Regions from separate parts of the Homo sapiens genome. Here region 1 is linked to region 2. Evidence: promoter capture Hi-C in 16 types of primary human blood cells and fetal thymus (Javierre and others, 2016). All regions are on one chromosome and are shown on one strand. Each heading gives the region's core, a stretch centred on a gene start or on the middle of the fragment in contact. The rest is flanking DNA. Distances are from core to core; before and after follow the strand shown. Region 1 holds the start of OR4C5 (olfactory receptor family 4 subfamily C member 5). Region 2 holds the start of OR4S1 (olfactory receptor family 4 subfamily S member 1).

Region 1 (3,854 bases), core at 954-3,453, 60 kb before region 2:
ATTTTGCAAATAACTTTAATGTTCACTTGACATAGAATAACTATAATTCATTTAACTGTTCCTCTTTATGTATATTTGGAGTTTTTTACCTTTTTATTAGTATAAAAATATTGTGAAATACAACTTGTATACATAATTTTGTCTATATTTTTTATCTAGAGTAGATTTCTAAACATAAGGAATACTGTGCCAAGGGTCATAACTAGTTACAAAACCCTTATTATAATAAGGGGTCAAACTTCTTTCTAGAATGTTTTATGTCAACACACATTCACCACCACTGAATAACACAACTATCATAAATCTTTGCCAATTCATCAGTATTTTACTGTTTTAAAATTGCATTTCTTTGGTAACTTATGAAAGAGGACTTTTTAGATGTCTAATGTTTTTTCTGAGAATTATCTTTTCTTAGTTTTACCCTTATTTACACCTTAATTCACACCTTAATAGTGTGAGTAAACATTTTAATTTGTTAACTGCTTTTATAATAACAGTTGTCATACTTGTTGCAATTATTTTTCCAAGGTGTTCCATACCTTTATGTAGCTGAGCTCATCAGTTTTGTTTTGTATCTTATACCATTATATTTTTATTTTAAAATATCCTTTCTTAGCTACAGATGAAATATATATTGATTTTTTTTTTGGTTTTGAAAAGATCTATGTTTTACCTGAAGTCTTTAATACATGCTATTCTTTTTTCTCTTTTTCTTTGGTTCTTTTTTTTCTTTTTTTGATGATTCCATTAAGAAGAGACTTATTTCGTTTTGAAAAACACCTATCTAGTTATTTTAAAATCTTTTATGAGCTACACATAATACCTTTCTAAATATTATTCACAAATAATATCCTTTGGTGGTATTACCATATTTGTTTCTTATTGAGCTCATTTCTATTCTTCAGTTTTCTTTGTATTTTTAAAATATCAAAAAGCTTTTTAATTTAGTTATCAAGTCTAATTTTTTATTGCCTGATGTCTTTCTGTGTTACACCTTTTTTTCTGAATATAATTGCTTGTTATTTACCTTGAGTTGAGTACTGAGTTCATTTATTTTCTCTCTTAATATTACAATGATAAATAACTTAAAGATAAAAATAATTATATGCAAAATTTTGTTTACTTGTGTTCTTTATCAAGATGTGGAGTACATGGTAAGCTATAGGTTTACCTTTAGGATACAAAGCTTGATATATTTAATCATGATATTCTTTAGTTCCTCCATTCCATTTGTTATTTTTCCCATTTTATATATGAAAAAGTTTAGGCACAATGAGACTAAGATCTGTACACAATATCATGTGGCTAATAGTCAGTGAAGATAAAATGTAAAAATTAGGCATCTGATTCTAAAAAACACTCTGTCCAATAAATTATGGTGCTTTTTTTCCCTCACCTTAAAATTATGTTTTCTAAACAGATCCATATAATTTTTCATAGTCATCCTTAAATTGGGTTTTGATTTGCAAAATGCCCTGAATTCTAAACATGACAGTTCTCCAAGTGAATTCTAAAGTTTCAGATACATCTGGGGAATGCTGCCTTGCATCATGCTGTTTTATCCTCTTCCAGGATATGCTTCCAGAAGTGTTTGATTGTATTCTTAGACAATTCTGTTTGGATGTGGCATAAATTCTCAAATCTAACTGCCATGGAGTATCTTACTGCAGCCTCAAACATTCACTCAGTTCAGTTGATTCTGAAATGTGGTGGCATCATCCTTAATTTCAAAGTGAACTCACCTGATGTTTTATAGTTACCCTGAAACAAGTTAAAAATAACCAGAATAACAAACTCTGCACCGTAGCCTCATGAACATGAGTGGTTAAAAAAAAAAAAAAAACGAAAAAAAAAAGAAACTAGGAAATTGACAGGAATTCAAGCCTCTGCTCCTCCTCTTTTTACTGCTGTTTTTCTATGGGGAAAAAAATGCTGTAAGGGTGATTGAGAGAATATCCATCCATGTACAATCATAGGAAAAATGCCTGACATGTCAACATCATAAAATCATGTTTGTGTACATAAATGAATGTGTGTATGTGTTTTTCTGTGTCTGTGTGTGTCTCTGTATGAGAGAGAAGAGGTATCTGTGTTCATTATGTCATGAATAACATAGCTCAACTTAGTCTTGGGTTTATAGATTTAGGGATTCCATCAGTGTTACAGAAAATAATCCTGACCAAAATTATTTTATTGTTCAAAATGTATGTGTCAAATTGCAATCCTTGTGCTATTCACAGAAAAATCAATTATCCAAATACCAAACTGGATTTCGAGCAAGTGAACAACATAACGGAATTCATCTTGCTTGGCCTGACACAGAACGCAGAGGCACAGAAACTCTTGTTTGCTGTGTTTACACTCATCTACTTTCTCACCATGGTAGACAACCTAATCATTGTGGTGACAATCACCACCAGCCCAGCCCTGGACTCCCCCGTGTATTTTTTTCTGTCTTTCTTTTCCTTCATAGATGGCTGCTCCTCTTCTACCATGGCCCCCAAAATGATATTTGACTTACTCACTGAAAAGAAAACTATTTCCTTCAGTGGGTGCATGACCCAGCTCTTTGTAGAACATTTCTTTGGGGGAGTTGAGATCATTCTGCTCGTGGTGATGGCCTATGACTGCTATGTGGCCATCTGCAAGCCCCTGTACTACCTGATCACAATGAACAGGCAGGTATGTGGCCTCCTGGTGGCCATGGCATGGGTCGGGGGATTTCTTCACGCTCTGATTCAAATGCTTTTAATAGTCTGGCTGCCCTTCTGTGGCCCCAATGTCATTGACCATTTCATCTGTGACCTTTTCCCTCTGCTAAAACTCTCCTGCACTGACACTCACGTCTTTGGACTCTTTGTTGCCGCCAACAGTGGGCTGATGTGTATGCTCATTTTTTCTATTCTTATTACCTCTTACGTCCTAATCCTCTGCTCACAGCGGAAGGCTCTCTCTACCTGCGCCTTCCATATCACTGTAGTCGTCCTATTCTTTGTTCCCTGTATATTGGTGTACCTTCGACCCATGATCACCTTCCCTATTGATAAAGCTGTGTCTGTGTTTTATACTGTGGTAACACCCATGTTAAACCCTTTAATCTACACCCTCAGAAACACAGAGGTGAAAAATGCCATGAAGCAGCTCTGGAGCCAAATAATCTGGGGTAACAATTTGTGTGATTAGAGAAGATAAACACAGAACCTACTCATATTTTAACAACAGGTATGACTAATGAAAAGGGTAAAGGTCTTGAGGTCAGAATAGTGAGTTTAAGTATATTTTATTCCCCTCATTTTCTGGAATCTTTAATGATGCCTTTTCATAAAAGATCAATATCTGATTAAATGATGACTAATGTTTCTGCCAATTTGAAACTTCTTCACATTTACAAATTATTAATCAGGGGGACATTGCTAGTCAACATAAAAATGTTACAGTGTATGGAAAACCCATGAGTTTATGTGTTTAGTAGAATAATTATCTGCAAAGCTTCGGTATAGAGTATATAACTAACAGGCCAAATAATTAAAATAAACAAAAAGACCTAATGGCTAAATCTTTTGTTGAAAATGCATAGTTTTAATCCCAACTAATAAAATCGAAGTAGAACTATTATTGTGAGAGAGAGAGATAGGTGAGAAACGATTGGGTTTTGAGGAATGAGAGTCGTTAAAGCAGCACTCATCCAAAATTAATGCTGTTGTGTTCACAACTCCAGGGGTGATCATTTACAGTATAATCTGGCTGTCTCCAGAATAAATTATTTTCTCTGTCTACAGCCAAAGAGGTGTAGAAAATTCATCCAGGTACAATCATAGAACAATCTTGGACATTATTTCTCAGGTAGAAGATAT
Region 2 (3,713 bases), core at 62-2,561:
GTTAGCCAACACAAAGGAATTATGTAGTGATTTTATTCATTTATCAATGAGATATCTGGACTTCCAAGACACTCCCTCATTCACAGGCCCTCACACGTTTCCTGAATGAGCTCTTAAATATCGCACTAAAAGCATCCTGGACTGTACTCTCCTTGAGGGAAAGATTATATCTTACTTTTATTTGTATTCTCACTCACTGTAAACATCCAATAAATATTTAATGAATAAAGGATTGAAAGAATATGTGGAATTATTATAACAACAAGAGCTAGGAGGATAATTGCCATTGCAAACATCAGACTGGAAATAAAAAGGCTGTGTTAGATGCTACAAGATGGAAAGTCTCCCAATTTCCTAGCTGGATTGAGATTCTCTGGAATGTCACTTCTCCCCTAAGCTCCTCTTGACCCTAAACAGCTTCCTCATGGCATTTTTCACATCGTTGTTCCTTAGTGTATAGATCAAAGGGTTCAGCAAAGGTGGCATCACAATGTTAAAGAGGATGATAAGTTTGTCAGCAGCCAGGGTGGTGGAGGGACGAATGTACATGAACATGGGGGGCATGAGAACCAAAAGGACAGTGATTACGTGTGAGCCACATGTGGAGACAGCCTTACGCCGGTCCTCAGATGACTGGCTTCTTAGGTTCAGTAAGATGATAACATAGGAAATGATAAGGATAAAAAAGGATGCTAAAGAAATCATACCGCTGTTGGCCACCACGATGAGACCTACCATGTAGGTGTCTGCACAGGCCAACTTGAGCAGGGGATGAACATCACAGAAGAAGTTGTCTATCTCATTGGGCCCACAAAAAGGCAGCTGAACCGTGAGGAGGGTCTGCAGGATGGAATGCAGGAAGCCAGCTAACCAGGAGGCCCCCGCTAGCAGGCCACACTTCCGGCAATCCATGATGGCTGTGTAGTGCAGGGGCCTACAGATGGCCACATAGCGGTCATAGGCCATGGCTGTAAGGAGGAAGATCTCAGTGCCACCAAAGAAGTGGGCAGAAAAGAGCTGGGTCATGCAGCCATTGAAGGAGATGATCTTATGCTCCACAAAAGTGTCAGCAATCATCTTGGGTATGGTAGTGGATGGATAACATATGTCAGCAAAAGACAACTGGCTCAGGAAGAAATACATGGGAGACTTCAGGGTCTTTCTAGCATTGATGGTGATGATGACCAGAAGGTTCCCCAGGACAGTGAGCACATGAAAGAGGAAGAATACCACAAAGCATGTATGCTGCATCTCTCTGCTCTCAAAAAGGCCAAATAAAACAAACTCAGTCACATTGTTCTTGGCACCCATGGATTATCTGCCCTGATGACCGACAAAGTGGCTGGCTGGCTCTGCAAAGACATAAATTATGAGACATAAGAAAGTTTTCTGAGATACCACCAAGATTATGGAGTAAGAAAGATACTAGCCTTCATCCCCATCACAAAAAATACATATATAATATATATAATATATTATTATATATATATATAAATTATATATTATATATAATAATATATATTATATATATATAATATATAATATATATTATAATATATATTATATATATAATATATAATTTATATTATATATAATAATATATATAAATCTATAATATATAAATATATATATCTTAAATATATAATATATAAATATGTATATCTTATATATATATCTCTAGAGCGAGAGAGAGACAGCTATCCACAAACCAAAATAGGTCTGCGAGGGTTCAAGGGCCCATTAAAGAATCTGCAGCAATACAGAGGAGCAAAAACATGGAGAATAGCCGCACACGAAGGATTTCTAGTGATATCTGCATACTTGAGATGCCAGGAGATGGTTAGGAACAAACAGGAAAGGTTGAGGCAATTAGTATCAGCCATGTGGTGGTAGTCATCAAGATCCCTGCTTTGCAGAGAACGCTAGCATTTATGCCACTGAGATAACCAAGAGCCATTCCCACCAGGAAACCCTAGAGAGGGAGACACAACTGTACTGCCTCCACCTGCAAGAAGCAGATGCTATTGAGCTACTTTGGAAAAGGAGCTGCCACCTCCCCAACACCATGCAAACCCCAAACTGCAGCTGCCCCTTGAGAGCTCACACTCAGACCCAGGGTCTGGGACTGCACTGCACCCACCCATGTATCAGACACTGGGCCATCACTAGAGCAAGCTCTGGGCCCTGGAGTCAAGGTCTCTCTGGGCATGCCCACACTTTGGGCACCAGTTCACCCTCCACAGAAAGTTAGTCCCTACCCCAACTCCAGAGCCATTGTAACTCTACATATATCTATGCTCCCATTCTTGGCTCCCTGGCTGCTTCAAAGCATTCACACCTCTAGCACTGTTACCTATGTGGTGGCAGGAGTGTCTTCACCCTAAGCACCAGTGTCATTATCATTCCAGATCCCAGAACCATAGTTCCTTCAGGTGTGCCCATGACCCAAGCCTCAGTTACATGGCTGCACAATAGGTGCCACCCAAAATACACCTGTGCCACCAACATCAAGAGGAAGCACACATACCAGAACCATGTCAAATGGTTCCCTAAGCCACAACTTCCCCAGTGGGAGAAAATTAAATAAGGAAGACCTTAGCAGCCACTACCAGCAACGAGCCTGAAAACCCTTGCTGTCACTGCAAACATCCAAGAATTTGGCCACTGAGGATCCCTCAAATCTGGGTCAACATTGACGTCAGCTAACAGGGCCACACAAAGACTATAAAGCCACATCCCACTGGTGCCAAAACCAATCCATCCCACCCACTCAGTCCATCCCATTATATGCTTGTGTCAGTCTGGGCCACAAGGATTGCAAAGCACCATCATGCCCCATAAGAGAAAATCTTTCCACACTGAAATTAGCCAATGAAATTTGCAAGAGATGACTACTCCACCAAATGTGCAGACATCAATAAGAGGGTAACAAGAAACAATGAAACACCAAGAAATCATACCACCAAAAGAACACAATAATTTCCAAGTTGCTGACCCCAAAGAAATGGAGGTATGTAAACAGGCTGAAAAATAATTCAACATAATTGCTTTTAAAGCTTCATGAAGTAAAGGAAAATACAGAGAAATCATTTTTAAAAAATCAGGAACATAGTAAAAAACCAAAATGAGAAATTTAACACAGATATTGAAAATACATTAAAAATCAAATAAAAAAGAGAGAAGACTTATAAATAAAATGAGAAATGAAAGAAGAGACATTACAACTCATACCACAGAAATATGAAGAATCACAAAAGACTACTATGAACAATTATAGACTTACAAATTGAATAACCCAAAAGAAACAGATAAATTCCTGGCCACATACAATCTAACAAGACTGAATTATGAAGAAATAGAATATATGACCAAACCAATAATGAACAAAGAGAATGAACAAATAATAAAAGTTTTCCATCAAAGAAAATCCCAGGAACGGATTACTACTAAACTCTACCAAACATTTAAAGAACTAATGCCAATCCTTCTCAAACTCTTCCAAAACAAAATGAAGAGGAGGGAATATTTCCAAACTCATTTTATGAGGACAACATTACCCTAATACCAAAGCCACCCTAGGAAACTAATAGAAAAGAAGACTACAGGCCAATATCCCTGATGAACATAGATGCAAAATTCCTTAATAAAATCCTAGCAAACCAAATTCAACAACACATTAAAAGGATAATCTGCTTTGATCAAGTGGGATTTAT

Evidence for each region. Contacts are between HindIII fragments. The CHiCAGO score rates a contact against its expected background, and 5 or more counts as called.
Region 1: a contact is called between the fragment with the promoter of OR4C5 here and the fragment with the promoter of OR4S1 in region 2, in 1 of 17 cell types (monocytes). The highest score is 6.0, in monocytes.

What each region holds. Positions count from the first base shown.
Region 1 is chr11:48,364,814-48,368,667 of GRCh38, reverse strand. It overlaps OR4C5 (olfactory receptor family 4 subfamily C member 5), which reads left to right and starts at 2,203. Exons shown (of 1, transcript NM_001348223.2): 1 at 2,203-3,183. The coding sequence starts at 2,203. The coding sequence ends at 3,183. The HindIII fragment of the contact is 2,303 bases long and covers 1,189-3,491 here.
Region 2 is chr11:48,303,821-48,307,533 of GRCh38, reverse strand. It overlaps OR4S1 (olfactory receptor family 4 subfamily S member 1), which reads right to left and starts at 1,311. Exons shown (of 1, transcript NM_001004725.1): 1 at 382-1,311. The coding sequence starts at 1,311. The coding sequence ends at 382. The HindIII fragment of the contact is 12,544 bases long and covers 1-3,058 here.